Regions from separate parts of the Homo sapiens genome. Here all the other regions are linked to region 1. The links are contacts of gene promoters, found by promoter capture Hi-C in blood cells and fetal thymus (Javierre and others, 2016). All regions are on one chromosome and are shown on one strand. The core of a region is centred on a gene start or on the middle of the fragment in contact, and the rest is flanking DNA. Distances in the headings are between cores, read along the strand shown. Region 1 holds the start of LAMA5 (laminin subunit alpha 5). Region 2 overlaps LOC105372717 (a long non-coding RNA gene). Region 3 holds the start of COL9A3 (collagen type IX alpha 3 chain). Region 4 holds the start of MRGBP (MRG domain binding protein). Region 5 overlaps NTSR1 (neurotensin receptor 1). Region 6 overlaps TAF4 (TATA-box binding protein associated factor 4). Region 7 holds the start of TAF4 (TATA-box binding protein associated factor 4).

Evidence for each region. Contacts are between HindIII fragments. The CHiCAGO score rates a contact against its expected background, and 5 or more counts as called.
Region 2: a fragment that was not itself captured here is called in contact with the fragment with the promoter of LAMA5 in region 1 in 1 of 17 cell types (neutrophils); the score reaches 5.1 in neutrophils.
Region 3: the fragment with the promoter of COL9A3 here is called in contact with the fragment with the promoter of LAMA5 in region 1 in 1 of 17 cell types (M0 macrophages); the score reaches 5.9 in M0 macrophages.
Region 4: a contact is called between the fragment with the promoter of MRGBP here and the fragment with the promoter of LAMA5 in region 1, in 5 of 17 cell types (erythroblasts, naive B cells, M0 macrophages and 2 more). The highest score is 7.7, in erythroblasts.
Region 5: a contact is called between a fragment that was not itself captured here and the fragment with the promoter of LAMA5 in region 1, in 1 of 17 cell types (M1 macrophages). The highest score is 5.0, in M1 macrophages.
Region 6: a fragment that was not itself captured here is called in contact with the fragment with the promoter of LAMA5 in region 1 in 1 of 17 cell types (neutrophils); the score reaches 6.2 in neutrophils.
Region 7: a contact is called between the fragment with the promoter of TAF4 here and the fragment with the promoter of LAMA5 in region 1, in 1 of 17 cell types (neutrophils). The highest score is 8.8, in neutrophils.

The regions. Positions count from the first base shown.
Region 1 is chr20:62,365,873-62,369,115 of GRCh38, reverse strand. LAMA5 (laminin subunit alpha 5) reads left to right here and starts at 1,804. Exons shown (of 80, transcript NM_005560.6): 1 at 1,804-2,167. The coding sequence starts at 1,871. RefSeq lists enhancers at 1-201, 2,300-2,999 and a silencer at 1,681-2,120. The HindIII fragment of the contact is 18,996 bases long and covers 1-3,243 here.
Region 2 is chr20:62,869,948-62,873,190 of GRCh38, reverse strand. The region is part of intron 1 of LOC105372717 (a long non-coding RNA gene); the gene reads right to left. It also overlaps the pseudogene ARF4P2. Among named protein-coding and RNA genes, the nearest start is that of TCFL5, 9.7 kb to the right of the region's middle. The HindIII fragment of the contact is 6,367 bases long and covers 1-3,243 here.
Region 3 is chr20:62,815,107-62,818,349 of GRCh38, reverse strand. It overlaps COL9A3 (collagen type IX alpha 3 chain), which reads right to left and starts at 1,300. Exons shown (of 32, transcript NM_001853.4): 1 at 1,208-1,300; 2 at 715-783. The coding sequence starts at 1,285. RefSeq lists enhancers at 1-371, 1,060-1,745, 2,434-3,120. The HindIII fragment of the contact is 2,563 bases long and covers 1-2,143 here.
Region 4 is chr20:62,795,011-62,798,253 of GRCh38, reverse strand. MRGBP (MRG domain binding protein) reads right to left here and starts at 1,781. Exons shown (of 5, transcript NM_018270.6): 1 at 1,583-1,781; 2 at 1,023-1,144. The coding sequence starts at 1,730. RefSeq lists a silencer at 1,475-2,014 and an enhancer at 2,638-3,184. The HindIII fragment of the contact is 13,279 bases long and covers 1-3,243 here.
Region 5 is chr20:62,711,806-62,715,048 of GRCh38, reverse strand. All of the region lies in intron 1 of NTSR1 (neurotensin receptor 1), which reads right to left. Among named protein-coding and RNA genes, the nearest start is that of NTSR1, 4.6 kb to the right of the region's middle. The HindIII fragment of the contact is 5,011 bases long and covers 1-3,243 here.
Region 6 is chr20:62,036,775-62,040,017 of GRCh38, reverse strand. The region is part of intron 1 of TAF4 (TATA-box binding protein associated factor 4); the gene reads left to right. It also overlaps the pseudogene RPL17P48. Among named protein-coding and RNA genes, the nearest start is that of MIR3195, 26 kb to the left of the region's middle. The HindIII fragment of the contact is 5,228 bases long and covers 1-3,243 here.
Region 7 is chr20:62,064,361-62,067,603 of GRCh38, reverse strand. TAF4 (TATA-box binding protein associated factor 4) reads left to right here and starts at 1,723. Exons shown (of 15, transcript NM_003185.4): 1 at 1,723-3,153. The coding sequence starts at 1,794. It overlaps MIR3195 (microRNA 3195), which reads right to left and starts at 2,802; the gene lies at 2,719-2,802. It overlaps LOC105372705 (a long non-coding RNA gene), which reads right to left and starts at 1,150. Exons shown (of 2, transcript XR_936960.3): 1 at 913-1,150; 2 at 1-662. RefSeq lists enhancers at 434-947, 1,976-2,490, 2,491-3,004, 3,005-3,243 and silencers at 943-1,322, 1,583-1,692, 1,953-2,042. The HindIII fragment of the contact is 9,555 bases long and covers 1-3,243 here.

The DNA of each region.
Region 1 (3,243 bases), core at 555-3,054:
GCCGGCCCCCGCTCCCCTCCTGGCCAGTGCCGGGGGACAGCGGAGGCCTGGCAGCTTGGCCTGATCTGGCCGCTAGGAGGCTTAAAGTGCTCTCCCCACCCCCACCTCTCCCCCTGCCCCGCCACTCGCAATCCCACCCCTCCAACCACCCGACCCTCCAGGGATCCCAAGAAGCCCTCAGGGTCTCAGGAGTCTCCACCTCCAGTCCCCCAGGCTGTCAGAGCCCCAAGCTGTCAAGGGGGAGCCCAGAGCCAGAGCACACTGCCTGGGGCCAAGCCCCCACCTGGGGACCCGCTACTGCCCAGAGGCCACTCTCTGCCTCACACGGGATCTAAAGCAGCTCAGAGCCGGACTCTGCGCCTGGACTGCAGATTCCTTGATGTCTCCGCCCCCTCTCCAGCCAGCCCCTCCCCCACTTGGAGCTTCTCCTGCCAAGGGGAGCCGCCTCCTCTCCCCCCTCCCCCAGGTGGGAGAACTAATAGTGAAGTTATGGAAGAATTGCCGGGCCGGAAAGTAGGAGGAGGGAGAGAGGGTCCCATCGCCCTCCCGACTCCGTAGAGAAAGGGCCATACACCCTCTTGGGATTTGAGATTTGCAGGAGGCCAGGGCGCCAGGAAGGTGTGCAAGGAGGTGCACCCTCCAGGGACAGCTGCTAGCTCAGAACCCCCACCAGAACCGGCTGGCCAGTGCCCCACAAACCCACCCAGCCCCCCGGGACTGTCCAGGGAACCCAGCGAGAGATGAGCCCCACAGCCCATCTGGGACCATGGCCCGCCCAGCTGGCCTGGCTCAGGGATGGGGGTTTGCTGCCAGCTCGGCAGCTGCAGCCCCACCCCGCCGCCACCCCCTCGGGGCTTCCCTGGAGGCAGATTTGGCCCCGGAGCCCAAGGGAAGTAGGAGACCCAGGGCCGCAGCCACCCAAAGGCAGACGAAGACCTGATCTCGGCCTCTAGGTCCTGTGCTGTTTGCCAGGCGTCCTCGAGCCGCCGATCGTGGCAGGAACGCGTGCGCGGCTGTGCAGCGGGTTGGAGGCCAGGCCGAGAGAGCTGGTGGAGTCCACCGGGCCCCGGAGCACAGGTGCTTCCAGGCACCCAGCAGGTGCTCAGCAGCTGTGACCAGAGCCCCCGACCTCCTTAAGAGCCAATTTGGCGGCTGTGGGGCCATGAGCACCGCCCCCGTCCTCTAAAGGGGGCTGCAGCTGCAGGCCAGTCCCTCCTGCCCCTATTTCCCTATCTGAGAGTATTTTTAAGCCCTGCTGGGGCAGGCGGGAGCCAGGCCGAGTTGAACCTGACCTGGCTGCCCCAGGAAGCAGGGGGTTCCCACCTAGGCTGCCCCGTTCCTCTGCAGATGGTCATTCGCGGGTGCAGAGGGCACCTTCCCGCAGCCAGCAGGACGGACGCTGTTGGGGGAGGAGCGGGGGCAGCCGAGTGGTGCACCCAAGTTAGGGGAACAAAGAGTGGGCCCCTGGGCTGGGAGGAGCTGGTGGGCGCTCTGGGGGCCAGGGCGTCGTGGGGAGCGCTAGGGTCCCACCCGGGACCCGGAGCTACGACCTGGGCTGGGGGCCCGGCGGCGCCGTCGTCCCACGGCCTGGCCCGAGGCCAGCAGGTGCCCCTTCCGGGAGGCGGCCGGGCCGGGGTCCGAAGGGTTAAGGCCGCCCGGCCGCCCCTCCCCCTCCTCTCTCCTTCCCCCCCCCACCCCGCCTCCCCGGACCTCTCCCCGGGGCTCGGGGCTCGGGCGCTCGGGCGGGCCGGGGCGGGGCCTGACGTCCGCGGGCGGAGCGAGCCCTGCCGGCCGCCTGGCTTCAGACCCGCCGGGCTCCCGCCGCGCGCGCTGTCCCTGGAGCTCGGGGACGCGGCCCGGAGCCGGGAAGATGGCGAAGCGGCTCTGCGCGGGGAGCGCACTGTGTGTTCGCGGCCCCCGGGGCCCCGCGCCGCTGCTGCTGGTCGGGCTGGCGCTGCTGGGCGCGGCGCGGGCGCGGGAGGAGGCGGGCGGCGGCTTCAGCCTGCACCCGCCCTACTTCAACCTGGCCGAGGGCGCCCGCATCGCCGCCTCCGCGACCTGCGGAGAGGAGGCCCCGGCGCGCGGCTCCCCGCGCCCCACCGAGGACCTTTACTGCAAGCTGGTAGGGGGCCCCGTGGCCGGCGGCGACCCCAACCAGACCATCCGGGTGAGCGCAGGGGCGGGCCGTGGGGCTTCCTCCCGGGGCACTCGGACCCGGAACACCGGCCCGACCCCAGGGGGAGCGCCGTGGCCCGGGGCGAGTCCAGGTGCGGACTCTCTGGTTCCGCATTTTGGGGGCCCAAGAAGGCACCCCGACCCGGCCGCTCCGTCTCGGCCGGGAAACTTCGCGTCCCTCCGGGAAGGCGGAATTAAAGTCCCCGGCATGGACCCGGGGGCGGCTGGGCGCCGGTCCAGTTCGACTGCGGTGACCGGGGCGGGAGGGGGGCCGGGCCCAGTCCCTGGCGGCCCCAAGTCCGGGATCCCGGGGAGGGCGGGACTTGGCCTCCGCCGCCTGCTGCCGGTGGGGAGGGGGCGCAGCTCCGCCCTACCCGGGACAGGCTGGAACCTGTTGGCCTCTGGATGGGGTGGGAGGGGCCAGCCACCTGAGGCTCCCACTAGCCCCTCTCGGAGGAGTCTAGGGACTCGAGGAGACCTCCAAAGTAGGGGAGGGCCAGCTGCGAAGTTTTGACTGGGGCTGGGAACACGTGGCTCCCAGGAGGGGCAGCATCTCTGCCCAGCAGGTGGTAGGGTCCGGGGGCTTCAGTCTCCCTGGGAGATGTGGGTTCAGGCCCTGAAGACCCCCTGGGGTGCATGTCCCCTCCCCAACAAGCCTTAAACCTGTAGGCGGGTTCTGTTGGTGGACTCCATGCATGGACACCTCACCTGAAAACCAAGGCTCTTGGGGCCCTGTAGACTTAGGTTGGGCCTGGGGTCAGCCTTGGGTGAGGAGCAGCAAAGTCAGCTCCAACGGCTCCCAACCGGCCGCTCTAGGCCCATTCCCCACCTCAGCCCCACCTTAGGGAGAGTCTAGGGGCCCTGAGGGCCTGTGTAACCTGAGCTGTCTCCTCCCTGGTACCTCTGCCTTCCCGGAAGGAGAGGCTGGGGCAGGGGCGAGTAGCTGGAGATTTGCTGGGTGGGGGCAGAGGGCCCTGGAGCAAGACGTTATGGGGATGAATGGAGGAGCCTGGGCTGGGCCCGCCCCCTCTGCCTGCCCCACCCCCTTGGCCCTGGTGGAGGGGGAAG
Region 2 (3,243 bases), core at 211-2,710, 500 kb before region 1:
CTTTCTCTTCCCCCTTGTTCAATTTGCCTGGAAGCATGAAAGAAGAAAGCACAGGGCCCCCCAAGCCCCTCTGCTTCTGCCCATCACAAGTGCCACGAACCCATGGTCCCCGCCATCTCCTCTCTCTTCTCCCGCCTCTTCAGCAAGAAGCAGATGCACATTTGGACGGTTCGATTGGATGCTGCCTATACATTGTGTATAAACTGAAGTTAGGGGAGGTACTCACCACAGTTCCTGCCATTGGTTTTAACATGGAAAGAGTAGAATATAAGAACACTTGTTTTGGGCCAGGCACGGTAGCTCATGCCTATAATCCCAGCACTTTGGGAGGCCGAGGCAGGCAGATCACAAGGTCAGGAGTTCAAGACCAGCCTGGCCAATATGGTGGAACCCTGTCTCTACTAAATATACAAAAATTAGCCAGGCATAGTGGTGGGCTCCTGTAATCCCAGCTACTCGGGAGGCCGAGGCAGGAGAATTGCTTGAACCCGGGAGGTGGAAGTTGTAGTGAGCTGAGATTGCGCCATTGCACTCCAGCCTGGATGACAGAGCGAGACTCTGACTCAAAAAGAGAACACTTGTTTCATGGTGTGGGATGTTCATGGTCAAGATGTAATTAGGCTTCTCTGGAAGCATTACTTCCAGAATACCCAGGGTTTTCTTTTGCTGGTAGATAGCAACGATCATGAAAGAATTCGGGAAGTGGCGGACGCGCTGCAGAAAAGGCTTCTGGCCGGTGAGTGTGGAGACGCAGCGCCACTGCTCTCTGCAAACAAACAGGGTTTGCCCAGCGCTCGGGCCATCAGTGTGACGACAGATGAGCCAGCCAGCTCTTCAGTCTCTTCCTAACAGGACATGGTATGTTCAAGCCACTTGTGCAACACGGAGCTGGTGTAGATGAGGGACTTGACTGGCTGTCAAATGAGTTTTCAAAACGTTAAATGAAACTAGACATCTAACCAAAGACATGTTTGATAAAATTGGTCTAGACTTGCTACAGCAAAATTTGTTTGTATCTTGGTTAAGAAACAGCATCTGGGACTGGCTTGGGCAGAATAATAAACTTATTTTGTTGCCAATTATTGTTTGCCAAATATAATGTTGTTATTTAGCAATGTGCTTGGTTTTAAAGAAATTCTTCTTGGGAAAAAGGTGTCCTCATTTACTTCCCATGAGCCTAAAGCCTGGACATAGTTATTGTAAAACCTTTAAATAAATCCACCTTGGAAGTTAAGATACATAAAAATAAATAAGGTGGGGCGTGGTGGCTCACGCCTGTGGGAGCACTGTCTGTGAGGAGGTGAATCCCTTGAGCTTGTTGGAGACAAGGCTGGGCAACATGGTGAACCTTGCCTCTATTTAAAAAAAAAAAAAAAAAAAGGCCGTGCACGGTGGCTCATGCCTGTAATCCCAGCATTTTGGGAGGCCGAGGCGGGGGGATCATGAGGTCAGGAGATCGAGACCATCCTGGCTCACATGGTGAAACCCCAAACCCCGTCTCTACTAAAAAAATTAGCTGGGCATGGTGGCACGTGCCTGTAATCCCAGCTACTCGGGAGGCTGAGGCAGAAGAATCGCTTGAACCCAGGAGGCGGACGTTGCAGTGAACCAACATCGTGCCACCGTACTCCAGCCTGGGTGACAGAGACTCCATCTAAAAAGAAAAAAAAAGAAAAAAAAAATTCGGCTGGGCACGGTGATTCACACCTGTAATCCCAGCACTTTGGGAGGCCGAGGCAGGCAGATCACTTGAGGTCAGGAGCTCGAGACCAGCCTGGCCAACATGGTGAAACCCTGTCTCTACCAGAAAAATACAAAAAATAGCCAGGCATCGTGGCATGTGCCTGTAATCCCAGCTGCTTGGGTGGCTGAGGTAGGAGAATCGTTTGAACCCAGGAGGCAGAGGTGGCAGTGAGCCGAGATCGCACCACTGCACTCCAGCCTGGGTGACAGAGCAAGACTCCGCCTCAAAAACAAACAAATAAATAAATAAATAAATAAATAAAATAAAGCACTGACTCACCATTTTCTTTTCCCAGATTATCCAGAGCACTTGGGCAAAAGCCTCCACCCCATTTTTACTAGAATGTTCAATGGCAGCCTTGGTTCCAGAGGCACTTGGTTGAATTTTGCCCATTGATGCTCATTTGCATGAATTATCAGCGCCTCTTTCCCGTGAGAAACGGTTACCAATGCTTTTAAATCAAAGGCAATCAAAGATCCAGCTCCAGAAAACCCAGAACCAGCTTTGATCACTCCACATCACGGAACAGAAAAATCAATTGGCCCAGGAGTCCAAGAAGCTACAGGAGGATGAGAGGAAGGGGAGCAGTTGCCGGCAGGCCTGGTGACCCTGCCCTGCTCAACCTTCCAAGAATTTGAGAGAGAAAGAAAGAAAAAAAACCCTGCTTGCTGCGGTCTGAGTTTGTATCCCTCCAAGATTCATACTGAAACCTAATCTGCACTGTGGTGGCATTAAGAAGAGGGGTCTTTAAAACAATGGCCGGGTGCGGTGGCTCACGCCTGTAATCCCAGCACTTTGGGAGGCCGAGGCGGGCGGGTCACCTGAGGTCAGGAGTTCAAGACCAGCCTGACCAACATGGTGAAACCCTGTCTCTACTGAAAATACAAAACTATTAGCCAGGCGTGGTGGCACGTGCCTGTAATCCCAGCTACTCAGGAGGCTGAGGCAGAAGAATTGCTTGAACCCGGGAGGCAGACGTTGCAGTGAACCGAGATCATGCCATTGCACCCCAGCCTGGGCAATAAATCGAGACTCCATCTCAAAAAAATAAATAAATAAAAAATAAGAAGAGGGGCCTTTAGGAGGTGACTAGGTCATGACGGGAGAGCCATCATGAATGGGATTAGTGCCCTTTTACAAGAGGCCTGGGGGAGCTGATTTTCTCTCTCTGCCACATGAGGATGTGGCAGGAAGGCAGCATCTGAGCGGAACAGGCCCTCATCAGCCATCACATATGCTGGTGCCTTGATCTGGGACTTTCCAGCTTCCAGAACTAGGAGCAATACATTTTTGTTGTTTATAAGTGACCCAGTCTAAGGTGTCTTGTTATGACAGCACAAATGGACTAAGACACTGCTGGGTTTTTATTGGAACTGCATACATCAGTTTTGGGAATAACAGACATCTTAACACTATCGAACCTTCCAATCCATGAACATAGTATATCTCTATATTTGTCCATCTTTTTAATTTATTTCAACAGTATTTTGTAGTTTTCA
Region 3 (3,243 bases), core at 51-2,550, 450 kb before region 1:
GTGTGGGGCAGCACTGGGCAAAGGGGTGAACTGGACAGACTGGAAGGAGGCTGTGGCCATTGAGGCCGAGCTGGGCAGGGGGGCAGAGGGTGGGTCATGGGGGGCTCTTGGTGCAGCCCTCCACAGCCCTCCACGGGGACCACACAGCGTGGACAGGCCCTGAGGGGACTCCTGCCCTGGTGGTGGTCACATGGGGAGGTTCACCCCAGACGGTCCCTCCGAGGGAGGCACAATTGTAGAATTTCAGCCGCCTCCTCCTGCTGCTTGGCCCACACCAGTCCTGAGATACCCATAGGGGACATCATCTCAGGACTGAGTCGGCTCCTAAGCCCCCTCCATGGCTGGCTCCAGAGCCCAGCAGCCTCCAACAAGACCCCCGGCCCCCAACCACCCAAAGGACGTGCCTCTCCCCACTTCAGCCAGAGGCCAGAACCCCGAACACAGGGGCACGGGCCCCTCAGGGGACCCAGAGACACACACCTCAGTGCCGGCATTCTGGGTGGAGGACCACCACATGACACCCTCCACCCCTACCCACCAGCAGTCCCCGCAGGGCCACCCCCATCCCGTGAAGGCACTGGCTGTCCCCTGATGTCACCCCGGCTCTGGGAGGTGGGGCCTGGTTTTCTCTCCATCAGGCCGGGGAGCTCAGGGAGGTGGGGGCCAGAGCCAGAACCCCAGAGCGCTCGGGGCCCTCCCCACCCCCAAACTCACGTCAATGCCGTCCTGGCCGGGCTTCCCGGGCGGCCCTGGGGGGCCGGGGGGGCCGGGGAGTCCCACTCTCTGAAACGGAGAAAACTCATTAAGGAGCGCAGGTGCCCCCGTGGGCCTGACCCGGCGTCCCCTCCTCCCGGGTCCCGAGCGGCTCCGGGGCCTGCGACGACCGCCGCTCTCCTCGGTGAGACCCAAAGCCTCGGGCGGAGCCCGGCGCCCCCGCGCAGTGTGTCCCCCGCCTCCCTCCGGCGGCGGGAACAAAGGCCCCCTTGTGCTCCCAGAGGAGGCGGCGGCGCCGGCCGACCCGGGCCAGCGAGGACCCATCGAGGACGCGGCCGGACGGGGCTCATCCCGAGGCGCTGGCGACTCCGCGCCCCGACGGCGACACGGGCTGGGGGCGTCGAGGCTGCGCCGGGCACCCCGGAGTGGCGGGTTCGGGGCTGGGGCGGTCGCGGCTCCACGTCCAGCCTCAGAGCCCGGAGCTCGCGCTCACCTGCGCCCCGGCGGCCGCCAGAAGCTCCCCGAGCAGGAGCAGGAGCAGGAGCGGGGCGCACGCGCGCGGCCCGGCCATGGCTGAGCGGAGTCTGAGCTGCGGCGTCGGGGCGGGCGGCGCGCGGGCGGGCGGGGCGGGAGGTGGGCGGCCCCTTCCCCTTCCCCTTCCCGCCCCCGCCTGCACAAGCCCCCCATTCAGCCGGGCCCACCTGGGCGGGGGGGCTTCCACCCGCCCCGCGCCGCCGCCCAGCCCGCCTGGGCGAAAACAAAAAAGACGCCGGGCGGGCGGCGCGTTCTCTCCGGCCGCGAGTTAAAATTATCCTGGGACTGGCGCGTTGCACACACGCAGCTTTGAGCAAGAGAGAAAGACGCTCTTTTCTCTCCTTGCTCCTCAACCCGAGTGTGGGGGCGGAAGCGCGCGGCGCTGAAGGGCCGCCTTCAGGGAGGGGCAGGGGAGACCCGCGAGTTTCCGAAGCCGCAGACCCCTCCCCAGGCGCCGGAGCGGACCCAGGCGACCCAAGGCCCAGGAACACCCCGGGGAGGGTGAATCCCCGGTACCAGGGCCCGGTCAGTGCCCAGCGCAGCCCTGGTTCCCGCTCCGGGGTCACTGTCCAGCGCTGCCTGCTGGGCTGGGAGCACCCCCACCGCGGCCCCTCACCCGTGGACCTGGACGGGCCGGGTGGTCAGGCCACGTCAGTTGCTACCGGCTAAGACCAGACTCCAAACCCAGACTCCCAGGAGAGATCGCAAAACGATGACCCTGGCCGAGGGGAAGAACCCCTCCCCGGGATCCCCGGCCTGAAGGAACCGTGCCCTGGGCAGGAACCTGAAGGCGGTGCTGGCCATGTCCATTTCCCAGAAGCTCAGGGGTCGCCAGGTCCGGCCAAGCTCTGCCTCAGGCTGCCAGGGCAGTCGCTGCCCTAGGGGACTCAAAGCTTCCAGTTGCCTGTAGGCTCAGTGAAGGCGCAGATGCCAGCCCCTCCCCCAGGAATCTTGAAAATTCCCGAGAAAGGCTGCCCTGGGGGTTGTAGGGGGCTGCAGGAGCTTCCTTTCGGCAGGTGGGGACTCATGACTGTTGCAATGCTGTGAGTTAGCAAGGGCGGGAGGGGATGAGAGGGGAGTGGGCGCAAAACTGCTCAGCAGGAGCACCGCACTCTGGCCGGGCGCAGTCAGCCTGGCGACAGAGGGAGGCCTCATCTCTACCAAAAATTGAAACATCGGCCGGGCGTGGCCAGCTTGGAGACAGAGGGAGGCCTCATGTCTACCAAAAATTAAAACATCGGCTGGGCATGGTGGTGCTCGCCTGTAGTCCACGCTACACGGGAGGCTGAGGCAAGAGGATCGCTTGAGCCTGTAAGGTCGGGGCTGCAGTGAGCCAAGACGGCGCCACTGCACTCCTGCCTGGGCAAGAGAGTGAGACCCTGTCTCAAAATAATAGTGTCGCTCTAATCTCTCCCGCGGTGAAGTGAGTGGAGGGAGATTCTCCCTTCACTGCTGGGTGAGCGCGGTGGCTGGGCTGGGAGGGGTGTGTGCGAATTCCATCAGGCGAGGTGGGAGGAGCTGAAAAGGCCCACCCTCCTGAGGAGTCCAAGTCATCCTGGCACAGAGCTTCCTAACAGAGGACTTTTGATTACGGGGAGAGGTGGGTGGAGCAGGTCAGCCCAGACAGCAGGGGGCCTTAGGGGCTCCCAGCACCAGCCCCACCCCAAGCCCAGGGTCTGGGGGACAGGATAAGTCCTCCCTACCAGTTCCACCTGGCAAGATGACCCTGTGGCCAGCCCCCTCCTCAGTGGCTCTCCCCTGGTCCCTGGCCCCACACCCCACTTTGCCTATCCCCATGATGCCCAGCATGCAGTCAGCAAGGACTGCTATCTGACCCAAATCAGACAAAACACAGCTGGCCTTCACCTCAGGCCAGGGGAGCCACCTCATGCCTGGGACACCTGCTTGGTGTCCCCCCCGAACCACCTTCAAGCCCCTCAAAAAACCACCCCCAGCTCCAGGCAGATCCTAGGCAGAGGGTGGGCACTGTCAGAG
Region 4 (3,243 bases), core at 532-3,031, 430 kb before region 1:
CACGGCCTGCAGTCTCACCATGAGACTGCGTTCCCCAAGGCGGCATGCAGAGGGCACAGTGACAGCCCTGGGGAAAGGCCGCAGGCACCTCGAGTTCTCATCCACGTGGCAGGAGCCCATGGACACCGAGGGTGTCGGTTGGGAGCGCCACAGGCACAGAACCAGGCAAAGAAGAAGAGAGTGCTTGCCAGGCACTGCCCTCCTGAGGTCGCACAGACCAGAGGGAGAGACCTATGTCATACTGATGGCCGGTGTGGCCCTGAGTCCAACGTGGCTGGCACAGACTCTCCACCAGCACAGGTCCCCACTCCTCCTGGTCACCTGACCCCTGACCCCCACCCCACTCTCCAAGTACACCACCTTCTTTGAGCTCCTGGACCCACCACCTCCTGCTGCCACAGGGCCTGGAACACCCACCTGTCTCTTCTGGCCACCCTGCTTACCTAGTTAACCCGCTCGCCCGTCACACAGTGCCAGCTCCAAGCTCTGCGAGGACTGGAACTCTACTTGTCTGACTCCCACAGAAGTCACCAAATTCACCTTGGTGTGACTCAGATAGGGTCACCCTCTGCCTAAAGCACTTCGGGGGCCTCCCAGGAGGCTGACAATGGCCTAAGGGCCCGGGACTCTGCATCCTTCCCTCCCTCCCCAGGGTCTCAGCTGGAGACTCTGGCCCAGCACCCAGTCTAAAGCAGAGCCCCTGAAAAGCTAGCCAGCTGCTAGCACTGTGTTTGTGCTTTCCATGACAGGCTCTGGAGCCCCGGGATGTCCTCCTTAAGGACGAGCCTCACTGCAGGGGTCTCTGCCCAGGGGACCCCAGCAGGCACGGAGGGGCCTCTGCCCAGCTCAGGCTGACCCTGAGAGCTCACTGCAGACCCCAGCAGGCATGGAGGGGCCTCTACTCTGCCCAGCAGACCCCAGCAGACATGGAGGGGCCTCTGCCCAGCTCAGGCTGACTCTCAGAGAGCGGTGTGCGGGTTCGTGCCCCCATCGGGCGGCACAGGGAGGGCGGTTGGGCTCACCAGCGCCTGCATGTCGTACATGGTGCTCAGATGGTCCCAGATGACCTTGGATGGGACCTGCCGCCCGATGTTCTGGCTGAACTTGTCCCGAATACAAATCATGTGGAAGTGTCGGTTCACACCTGAGGGGAGGAGGGGCGGCGGGATAACCGGTGAGCGGTGAGGAGAAAGGGGATGGAGGGGACGGGCTGCCCTGGGGACTGGAGGGGCAAGGGTGGCTGCGGAGAGATGGGGAGGGCCAGGGTGTGGAGGGGCTGTGGGGGGGCAGGGCTGGGTGGTGTGTGTGGGAGGGGGTGGGCTGTCCCGGGGCGGGGGTGGGGGTGGGGCACTGCGGGCTGGGACCTCGCGGTCTCACGGGGGTAGGGGTCGTGGGCGGGGTCCGGGGCGGGGTCCGAAGGGCGCGTGGGAGGGGGCGGGGGTCCCGGGACGGGTGTGGCGGCGGTGTCACGGCCCGGGCTCGGCGGGGAGCGTGGGGGCGAGGGTGTCGCGAGCGCAGGCCCCGCCCCGCCCCGCCGGTTGCCCGCCCCGCCCCCACGCGCGTCCGCAGCCTGGGCGCTCACCGACGGGCTTGTGGCCCAGCATGGCGTGGAAGAGGCACACCTCCACCTCGGGGCTCCACACCACTGTCTCCTCCGCCGGGCTGGTGGCCGCCTCCCCCGGGCCCTTGTCGCCTGCGGCGCCCCCGCCGCCCACCTCGGCCTCTCCCATGGCCGCGGCCCGGCCGAGCAAGGAGCCCCCGGCGGGAGCAGGCGCGGCCACGAGCTCCGCGCAGGCGCACTCGGGGGCGGGCGCGCGCTCCGCCGGGTACGCGCTCGGGCTCACGCGCCGGCGTCGGCGCAGGCGCAGCCGAGGTCTCGGGTCCCTTCCCGCCGGGGACTCCGCCCTGCTCCGCCCCGCGCGGGGGTTCTTAAAACGTGTTCCTCTTTAAAGCACAGTAAGAAATACACTGCACCCAAACAAAAAAGTCTGTGCTTCAAAGGAAACCATCAGAAAAGTGAAAAGACGACCCACAGATGAGAGAAAATATTTGCAAATCCTATATCTGATAATGAACTTCCTTGTAGAAGGTATAAATAATTCTTATAACTCGATAATAAAAAGACAATCTAACTATAAAACGGCTAAGGATTTGGATACACATTTTTCCAAAGAAGATGTACAGATGGGCCGGGCGCGGTGGCTCACGCCTGTAATCCCAGCACTTTGGGGGGCCGAGGCGGGCGGATCACCTGAGGTCAGGAGTTCGAGACAAGCCTGGCCAACATCGTATAACCCCGTCTCTACTAAAAATACAAAAAAAGTAGCCGGGCGTAGTGGCGGGCGCCTGTAATCCCAGTTACTCGGGAGGCTGAGGCAGGAGAATCGCTTGAACCCGGGAGGCAGTGAGCCGAGATCGCGCCATTGCAATCCAGCCTGGGCAACAAGAGCGAAACTCCGACTCGAAAAAAAAAAAAAGATGTACAGATATGGCTAATGAGCACCATCGGTCACGCGAAACTAGAATCAGCCCGCGTGGGGACCCCCTGCCCCGCCGAGACCGCCACAACCACGCGGCCGGGGTGACGAGTGCTGCGAGGGTCAGGGCTCGGGACCCTCGTGCGGTCGTGCTGTGCGGTCAGATGGGCCGCTGCTGCGAAAGACAGTCTGGCCGTTCCTTCAACGATGGAACCGTCTCCCTAGGAAGCAGCAGCTCCGTGGCGGGCGCCCGCGGCAGTGGAACAAGACACAGGTTCAGGCTGGGACCCGCAGCCGCGAGGCAAGCGCCGCCCCCAACCCGGGGCTGAACCTGCGAGGGGCGCCCGGAGCGCGGGCACCCGCACGGCGCAGCCGCGTTCAGCCTAAAAGCAGCGAGCGCGGACTGCGGCAGCGTGGGTGCGGGCTGAGACGAAAGTCAGAGAATTCAGACACGAAAATACACAGCATGGGAATCCATTCACAGGAAGAGCCAGAACTGGCAACTCCATAGGAATAGAAAGTAGATGCACGGTTGCCGGGGACGGGGGAGGGGGAGGGAAACGCGAGTCACTGCGGATGGGGACCGGCTTCTTTTTTGTTTGTTTTTGAGGCAGAGTCTCGCTCTGTTGCCCGGGCTGGGGTGCAATGGCACGATCTCGCCTCACTGCAACCTCTGCCTCTTGGGTTCAAGCGATTCTACTGCCTCAGACTCCCGGGTAGCTGGGACTACAGGCGCTCACCACGGCCGGCTAATTTTTGTATTTTT
Region 5 (3,243 bases), core at 291-2,790, 350 kb before region 1:
TGTCTCCTCTGTAGCCCTCCCACAGCCCCTTCCCCCAGATCACGCTTCAGTAAATCTGAGACATTGCATCATTTTGTCTGTAAACATTTCCGCATGTACCTCTAAGAGAGCAGGACCATTTTGAAAACCATACCCACAACAGCTCTGGACAACAAGAATTTGTAGCTATTCACTACCTAGGCTTTTTTGCTGTTTCTTGGCAGGAAGAATGATCAGCTTTGGTGCCGGCTTTCTGCGACAGGTTGACTTGTCCGAGTCTTTGCTAAGAAACCAGGCCACCGTCTCCGATTCCCTCACTGTTTGTAGAACAGAACGAGTTGTTTATTTGGAGCTGTTTCTTGTGGTCTGGGTTTTGCTGGCTGCATCCTAATGGTACATTTGTCCCTGTTCCTCTGTCCCTGGTGTGTCCTGTGTGTTGGATCAGGGGCTCCATGAGATTCAGATTCAATGGCTTTGCTCCAAGGATGCCACGAGGCTGTGTGCACACCAGGGCTCACCTCACACCTAACTCTCTCCCCTTCGTGACCCCAGCAGCTGTCAAGAATCCATGCCTACATCCATTGATTTATGAGGATTGCACCTGATGGGTGGTATTCTGACCATCCTGCTCCTTCTTCACTTATTGATGAACATTTCTGGGCTGAGACACTGCCTTTTATCTACTCTTGGGTTATTCTAAAGTACCGTTTGAATAGAAAAGGCAGGAAAAATACTCCATTCCTTTCCTCTAAAGGGTCATGGGCTCAGACTGGAGGAAGTGTGTGACTCTTGGCCCCACACCAACAGCCCTCTATGCCCTGCGCTGCAGGTGAGGACACTGTGGCCGCTACGGCCAGAGCCAGAGCTGCCCACAGCTGCGTGGCGTGGGTCCCCTTCCCGTCCTCACGGGAGGTCAGAGTGGAGCAGGCTGTTCCTAAGGACCCCTTGAAGAACTTCTTCTGCAACTTTTTTTTTCTTTGAGACAGTTGTCACCCAGGCTGGAGTGCAGTGGTGTGATCTTGGCTCACTGCAACCTCCGCCTCCCAAGCTCAAGCGATTCTCCTGCCTCAGCCTCCCAAGTAGCTGGGATTACAGGCATCCTTCACGACGCCCAGCTAATTTTTGTATTTTTAGTAGAGATGGGTTTTCGCCATGTTGGCCAGGCTGGGCTTGAACTCCTGACCTCAGGTGATCCGCCTGCCTCAGCCTCCCAAAGTGCTGGGATTACAGGTGTGAGCCACCACGCCCGGCCTTCTGCAACTTTCTAACTTGAAAAAGTTCCTACTGCAGAACAGTTGCAGGAAGAATGCCCAGGACACTCAGCTGCCTGTGGCAGGGCTGCAGCCCAATGCCGCATGACCCGCAAGCAGTCTCCTCCCTTGATTCACTGTCTGCTTGCTCTCCTTCCATTTGGCCACACCTTTCTTTCTGAATGATTTGAGAATAAGTTGCAGACTCCACACTCTAAACACCTCTGTATCCTTCCTAAGAACAAGGATGCTGCCTGTGGAGGTTGCTGGGCACAGCCTGGGGCACGGGACAGGAGCCCTGAAATAATCCATGGCCAGATTTCACTGGAACCTGTCTCCTTCCCTGTCTCAGCCGCCTCTCCTTTCCCGGAATTCTGCCAGCCCTGAACGGCTGGGGTGTTTGCCAAGTCGCCCTGTGATCTGTCTGCTCCTGGACGCCTCTGGAGCAGGGGTTGTAGGACACCAGCGCCTCCTGCACAAATTGAGGCCCCTGTCTGCCCCTGGGAGGGAGCAGGTGCCCTCTGAGTTGGGGTCTAACCCAGCGAAGAGCACTGCTGTTTGTACTCAATATGAAGAAGGCTTTCAGAAAAAACAAGGAGGAGGCAGGGAGGCTGAGCCTGCAGGAGCAGGACTCCCTTGGTGCAGAAAATGGCAATGATGAAAGGAGTCCTCACGGCTGCTCAGGAGGGTCTAATGGACTCGTGCCTGTGAGGCTGGGAGGGTTTGCTTTCGTGTGTGGCCATAGTCAGGGGCGGGTCTCTAAAACTGTTTCAAAGGCTGCAGCCACCTCATCTGATTTGAATCGGACACCTGAAGTCCCAGGCCCCTGCCACTGTGGGCCCCTGGACACACACATGTGTGCACACGTTCAGTATACACGCCATGGACAGATGACAGATAAGCATGGGACTCTGATGACCCACCATCTGGGCCATCAGCCCTGAGCCCTGCCACACAGATCGTGTGCCACTGGGACCCTGTCACAGCCGAGGTCAAAGCTGAGCTGGAGGTTGGGCCTGGGCCATGGGGGACCATCCAAGAAGCAAGGGCCATCTGCCCGTGTGGGGCCACGTGTGCGGGTGGGTTAGAGGATGGGTAGGACAGTCCAGGGGAACCCAGGGGCACCCGTAGGTCCCTGAGCCCCCAGCTCCTCCTCCCAGTCACCCTGCTGGCACCAGGGCCAGGTCTGGGGCCTTTGGGAGGGTCCTGGGCACCAGGTCCTGTCTGCTGACCTGAGAGCCCTGCCCACTCCACCATCAACTCCCAGTCCCAGCTACACACTAGGAAAATGCCCAGCTGGCTTCAGGGAGGATTATTGTAAGTTGCTCCAAAGTGTTATCACTGAACCACCTCATTTCTAAACACAATTTCTGTTTGCAAGTGCCCAGGCCAAAATTTCGTAGGAGACGCTGGGGCAGGAAAGGACCCCTGTTTTGGAAAGAGGGGCCATTTGATTGGCCACTGCCCCAACACTTCCAAACATGGTCACTGAGAGGGAGACACTTAGCTCAGGGTATCCAGCCCCTCTTCAGCCAGACATCACCATCTGAAAACCGTGGATGTTTGCCCAGATCTGCCAATGGCCCAGAAGCCCACGTGGGGACCGTAAACCCCCTAATTCCGGGGAAACCTTTCATAAAATGGCAAATGGCGGGGCAGGGGTCAGGGGAAGCCAAGGCCTCTCCTACGAGGAATGTTCTTTTCAAGCACACAGAGCAGCTGGCATCGGGGCCCTGGAAAGCCCCAGGTCATCAGCATCGGATGGAGGAGCACCCTTGTAATCAGCTGCTCCCAGGCACGCAGCTGAGCCCTTTAAAGAAAAATGGAAACTACGTTCTCCAAGGGTGCCTTCAGCAACGCTCGGCCAGCATGGCGTCTGCAGGGCGTGGGGCCGCTGTCCTACGGTTGATACGTCACAGGCCTCTGCGATTGGACGAGTGCCTGTGGCCGGCCGTAGCGTGACTTGGCCAAATCTGCCTCGCAGCCTCTGAGCAACAAGGCTGGGCAGGTGGTG
Region 6 (3,243 bases), core at 479-2,978, 330 kb after region 1:
GGTTGACATCCTTGCGGAAAGCTGGTATGGTCAGTCTTGAATTTTAGCCTTTTCGATGGGTGCCGTGCCATTATGTTGTGGCTTTGATTTGCATTTCCCTAGTGACTAATGCTGAGCGTCTTTCCACCAGCTTATTTGCTCATTTGCCTATCTTCTTTCGGGAGGTGTCTTTTCAAATCTTTTGTCTGTGTGTTTTAAATTGGGTTGTTAGTTTTGTCATTATTGATTTAGTAAGAGTTTAAAATGTATTTTCTAGATGTAAGTAATTTATCAGATAGAATTGTTCTGTAACTATTTTCTTGGTCTGTGTTTGCCTTTTCTTTTAGCTGCATGCGTTTTAAAGTGCAAGTTTTCAATTTTAAGGAAGCCCAATGTATCATTTTAAGAATTCATTTTGTGCCTTCTTAAATAAATCCAGTGTATCATTTTAAGAATTCGTCCTGTGCCTTCTTAAATAAATCCAGTGAGTCATTTTAAGAATTCATCTTGTGCCTTCTTAAATAAATTTTTGCCTAACCCAAGGTACAGGAGTTTTCTAGAATGCTTATGGCTTTAGCTCTTACTCAACCCAATTCAAGTTAATTTTGGGAGAGTTGTAAGGTAGGGGGTTGAGACTCATTTTTTCTGTGGTTACCAATCATGCCAGCCTTATGTGTTGAGGAGACCTTCCTTTCTCTATTGAACGATGCTGCTGCCTTTATTGAAACTCAGTCGGCCACGTGTGAGGACGTCACTTCTGGGATGTGTTCTGTCCACTCATGTCCTTGTCTTCCCTTCTGCAGCTCAGCACTTTCCAGCCCATTTAGAGGGAGTGTTGATGGGTGGCAGGAGTCCTCCAGTGCTGCTTTTTCGAAAACGTTGAGGGCTGTTCTGGTCGTTTGCATTCATGTGTTTCAGAATCAGTTCGTCAACTTCTACAAAAAAAGCCTCTTGATACCTTGATAGCTTTTTGTTTGTTTTGAGACGGAATTTTTCACTCTTTCACATCTTTTCCTGGAGTGCAGTGGCACGATCTTGGCTCACTGCAAGCTCCGACTCCCGGGTTCAAGTGAGTCTCCTGCCTCAGCCTCCCGAGTAGCTGGGATTACAGGCACGTGCCACCACACCCGGCTAATTTTTGTATTTTTAGTAGAGATAGGGTTTTGCCGTGTTGGCCAGGCTGGTCTTGAATTCCTGACCTCAGGTGATCCGCCTGCCTCAGCCTCTCAAAGTGCTGGGATTACAGGTGTGAGCCACTGGGCCTGGCCAATACCTTGATATCTTGCTTGGGATTGTATTGAGTCTATAGATCGGTTTTATGATCATTGATATCTTAGCAATATCGAGTGTTCTGATTCACGAACGTGTTGTACCTCTTCATTGATTTAGGCCTTTCAGGATTTTTCTCAGGGTTGTTTCAAGTTCTCAGTGTTTGTATCCTGAACATACTTTGTTAAATTTATTCTTAAGTATTCATATTTTATGCCATGTACGTGGTCCTTTAAAAAATTTTGTTTCCAATTGTTGCCAGTATTTAGAAAAACAATTGCTTTTGGCCGGGCGCGGTGGGTCAGTGGCTCGGTGGCTCAGTGGCTCATACCTGTAATCCTAGCACTTTGGGAGGCTGAGGCGGGCGGATCATGAGGTCAGGAGATTGAGACCATCCTGGCTAACACTGTGAAACCCTGTCTCTACTAAAAATACAAAAAATTAGCTGGGCATGGTGGCACACGCCTGTAGTCCCAGCACTTTGGGAGGCCGAAGCTGGTGGATCACGAGGTCAGGAGATCGACACCATCCTGGCTAACACTGTGAAACCCTGTCTCTAGTAAAAATACAAAAAATTAGCCGGGCGTAGTGGTGGGCTCCTGTAGTCCCAGCCACCTGGAGGCTGAGGCAGGAGAATGGCATGAACCTGGGAGGCGGAGCTTGCTGTGAGCCGAGATCGCGCCACTGCACTCCAGCCTGGGCGACAGAGTGAGACTCCGTCTCAAAAAACCAAAAAAAAAACAACAAAAAAATTGCTTTTAAAAATAGTGACTTTATAGCTCTTCCCCAAGCGGCCTGAGATGATCTGTGAAAATGGTTCATTAGTCACTTGACCCAGAAATCCCCACAAAATCGTGCAAATCCAGAGGTTCAGGTCTTCTTGATCACTTTAAGAACGCTCGTGAAACTGCCCAGGCCATCAAGGGTATGCATACGTGAGAAGTCACCAAGTGTCTGAAAGACGTCCCTTTATAGAAACAGTGTATGCCATTCCGACTTGGCAGGGGTGGAGCTGGCAGGTGTACCTAGGCCAAACAGTGGGGCTGGACACAGGGTTGGTGACCCGAAAAGAGCGCTGAATTTTTGCTGCACACAATTAAAAATGTGGAGAGTCACACTGAATGTGAGGGTGTAGATGTAGGCTCTCTGGTGTTTGAGCACCCAGGATGCGCTGTGGGACTTCCAGGGCTGGTGGTCGGGTTCATCCATACAGGGCGCCCCGTCACATTGAGACGATCCTCACGGTAAAGACACTTGTTCCCAAGCCAGGTGAGGAAGTTGCACAGAGGAAAACTGTACCAGAAGAAACTGAAGAAACAAAAACTTGTGGCATGGGAATAAACTCAGCATACAATAAATGCAATTAAAATAAAAAAAATTGACTTTATATCCTGTGGATTTCTTAGGATTTTCTTCAAAGATAGGCGTGATCTGCAGTAAAGAGTGGTTCATGTCTTTTTTTCTGGTCTGTGCACCTTTTATTTCTTGTTCTTGTCTCATTGCACTGGCCACAACCTCCAGTGTAATATGACAAACAGAAGCGTTGAGAAGGGACATTTTGCCTTGTTTCTGATCTTGGGGGAGGCAGTCTGTCTTCTCTCATGACGCACATGATGTCAGCTGCAGGTTTTTCATAGAGGCCCTGTGTTAGGTTGAGGAATCCCCTTCTGTCATAGGCCATTCTGGCTGCTGTAACAAAATACCATAGACTGGGAGGCTTCTAGACACCGGAAATTCATTTCTCACAGTCCTGGGAAGTGCAAGATTGCCATGCTGGTGAGGGCCTGCTGCCTGCTCCCATGCAGCTTCTTGTGTGTCCTCAGAGTGTGGAAGGAAGGGGCAAGGCAGCTGTGGGACAGGCTCTTTCATAAGGGCGCTAATCCGGTTAATGAGGGCTGGGCCCCCAAAGTCCCCCCGCTTCTGCTACCATCACCTTGGGGATTGGGTTTCAGCATATGAATTGTGATGGCATTCAGTCTATGCACCTTCTTTTCC
Region 7 (3,243 bases), core at 474-2,973, 300 kb after region 1:
GCAAGTTGTGCGTGGGGCCAGTTAGCCTGCCTGTGCTTTGACCTGCTTTAAAAATGTTCTAATTAGTTGTCAACACTCAAAAATTAAAAATCCCGAGATTTAATCATCACTTTATATTTCTGTTCTTTCTGGAAAACTCAGACTGTCCCCCTACTGAGCTCAAGGTGCTCCGTAGGTGTACCCACAGGGGCCCTCCCCGCCATACTCAGCTTGCTTCATTCATTTCCTTTCCTGCCTTCTGGGAGCCAAAGTTCAGGTACAAAACTCCAGCTGTACGTTTGCAGTGATTTCCCCCAAACACTGTTCCCCTATAGGGGAGGCACCTCTCCTAGGCTCCGTCCTCAATGCTCATTGGCTGCTGCTGCTGTCGAGAAACAAGCCTGGGGTGAAGTCCCGTATTCCAGTTATCAGTAAGTCCATTCCTTTGCAAGGCTACAGTTCGAACAGGCACAAGGGTCCAGTTCGGGTCTGCTTTCGAGACTAGCAGTCTCCTTTGTTAAAGCAATTAAAAAAATCATTTTCTTTGTCAGCAACGTCATTCATCGTCCCGAGGTCTCTGCTTATTGCGGCGCTGTCTTCAGCTGCGAAGACTGACCCTGTGGCCTCTTGGCCCCAGTGAGGTCCGAGGCAAGGAAGCGTCTCTCTGAAACCTATTCTGGGCTCTTAGGAAGAAATGAGAGAAAGGAAAACCACTAGAAATGTCCAATAACACCATCTTTTGGTTGGAAAATAAAACACGCAGAAAGAGGGGACTGGAACTTTTACTGAAGTATTTCTAGAGAGAAGGTGCTTGGGAACACTTTAGGTAACTTACTCCCCTCCCCCAGCAGAAGGTAAAAAAAGCTACTTCCAGACGTGCCGGCTTCAGGCTCGGGAACTTCGTTTGGCGCCTGGCAAGCACCGTGCTCTTACCTACGGGCTTATACGACACTCCTGTCTCCAAGGCAGCTGGGTGCGGGGACAGTCAGCCCGGGGCGGCTGGGTTTATTGATTAAAAATGGAGGGAAGGGCCAGGGGTGGTCACGATTGGAGGGCGAGAAGAGCCGTGCGCGCAGGACCCCTCCCCACCGCCCGGGACCGGCTGAGCCAGAGGCGGACCCAGCTTCCCCGCGGCGGCTTGGAGGGGCCGGGCGCCGGTCCCCGTCCCCAGGGCGCGCTGCGACAGTCCCCTCCCCGTTCCCGCCCGCCTCCCAGGCCCATCCACTCCAGGGCCTGCGCGCCGCCCGGCGGCGCCCCGGCATCCCCGCGCGCTGTTCCCCGGGCCTCGGACGGGCCCTGCGCCGCCGCTGCCACCGCGCACGGCGCCCGCCCGGCGCTCCCGTCAGCGCCGCCGCAGCCATTTTGGAGCGAGCCGAGACAAAGAGCGAGGCCCCGTCGCCGCCCCGCGCCCGCCTCGGCCCGGCCCAGCGCACCGTTCCCGCATCCCGCGCCCCGCCCGGCGGCCCCCTCCCCGTCCGCCACCGCCCCGGCGCCCGCGCCCCTGAGCTCCAGCCCCCGCGCTTCCCGCCGCTGCTGCCGCACCCCGGCCGACCGCCCGCGCCCCGGCCTCTAGCGCTCGCAGCCATTGGCCGCGCCTTTTAAGCGCGCGCCGCAGCCAATCGCCGGGCGCCCGCGGTCTCCGCGCCTGCGCAGGGCCGCCACCCCCGCTCCCCCGCCCCCCGGCCGCGCGCCCCCGCCCCCCGCCGGCCGCGCGCCGCCCCCCGCCCGCCCAGCGCCCGCCCCAGTCGGAACCTCCTCCTCGCCCAGGCGCGCTCGGCCCGAGCGGCGGCGGCGGCGGCGGCCGAGGAAAAAAGATGGCGGCGGGCTCGGATCTGCTGGACGAGGTCTTCTTCAACAGCGAGGTGGACGAGAAAGTGGTGAGCGACCTGGTGGGCTCGCTGGAGTCGCAGCTGGCGGCCAGCGCGGCCCACCACCACCACCTCGCGCCGCGCACGCCCGAGGTGCGGGCCGCGGCCGCCGGCGCGCTCGGGAACCATGTTGTGAGCGGCAGCCCGGCCGGAGCCGCGGGCGCAGGGCCGGCCGCCCCCGCCGAGGGCGCGCCCGGAGCGGCGCCGGAGCCGCCCCCCGCAGGTAGAGCGCGGCCGGGGGGCGGGGGGCCGCAGCGCCCGGGCCCCCCCTCACCGCGCCGCCCCCTTGTCCCCGCAGGGCCCGCGCCGCCCGCCGCGAAGCTGAGGCCGCCGCCCGAGGGCAGCGCGGGGTCCTGCGCCCCGGTGCCCGCCGCCGCCGCCGTCGCCGCGGGGCCCGAGCCCGCCCCCGCCGGCCCCGCCAAGCCCGCCGGCCCCGCCGCGCTGGCCGCCCGCGCCGGCCCCGGCCCCGGGCCCGGCCCCGGCCCCGGCCCCGGCCCTGGCCCTGGCAAGCCCGCCGGCCCCGGCGCCGCGCAAACTTTGAATGGGAGCGCCGCGCTGCTGAACTCGCACCACGCCGCCGCACCTGCTGTCAGCCTGGTCAACAACGGGCCCGCCGCGCTGCTGCCGCTGCCCAAGCCCGCCGCCCCCGGCACTGTCATCCAGACGCCCCCCTTCGTGGGCGCCGCCGCGCCCCCCGCGCCCGCCGCGCCCTCGCCCCCCGCCGCCCCCGCGCCCGCCGCCCCCGCCGCCGCCCCGCCCCCGCCACCCCCCGCGCCCGCCACTCTGGCCCGGCCGCCCGGCCACCCCGCCGGACCCCCGACCGCCGCGCCCGCCGTGCCGCCCCCCGCCGCCGCCCAGAACGGGGGCAGCGCCGGGGCAGCCCCCGCCCCCGCCCCGGCCGCCGGGGGCCCCGCGGGGGTCAGCGGCCAACCCGGGCCCGGCGCGGCGGCTGCGGCGCCGGCGCCGGGGGTCAAGGCCGAGTCGCCCAAGAGGGTGGTGCAGGCGGCGCCCCCGGCGGCGCAGACCCTGGCGGCCAGCGGCCCGGCCAGCACGGCGGCCAGCATGGTCATCGGGCCAACTATGCAAGGGGCGCTGCCCAGCCCGGCCGCCGTCCCGCCGCCCGCCCCCGGGACCCCCACCGGGCTGCCCAAAGGCGCGGCCGGCGCAGTGACCCAGAGCCTGTCCCGGACGCCCACGGCCACCACCAGCGGGATTCGGGCCACCCTGACGCCCACCGTGCTGGCCCCCCGCTTGCCGCAGCCGCCTCAGAACCCGACCAACATCCAGAACTTCCAGCTGCCCCCAGGTGAGTGGCCGCACGGGGCGGGAGGGAAGGGCGGCTCCCAGCAGCGCCAGCTGCCAGTTCCAGGAAGTTCTCCGCTGGTGGAATGCTAAG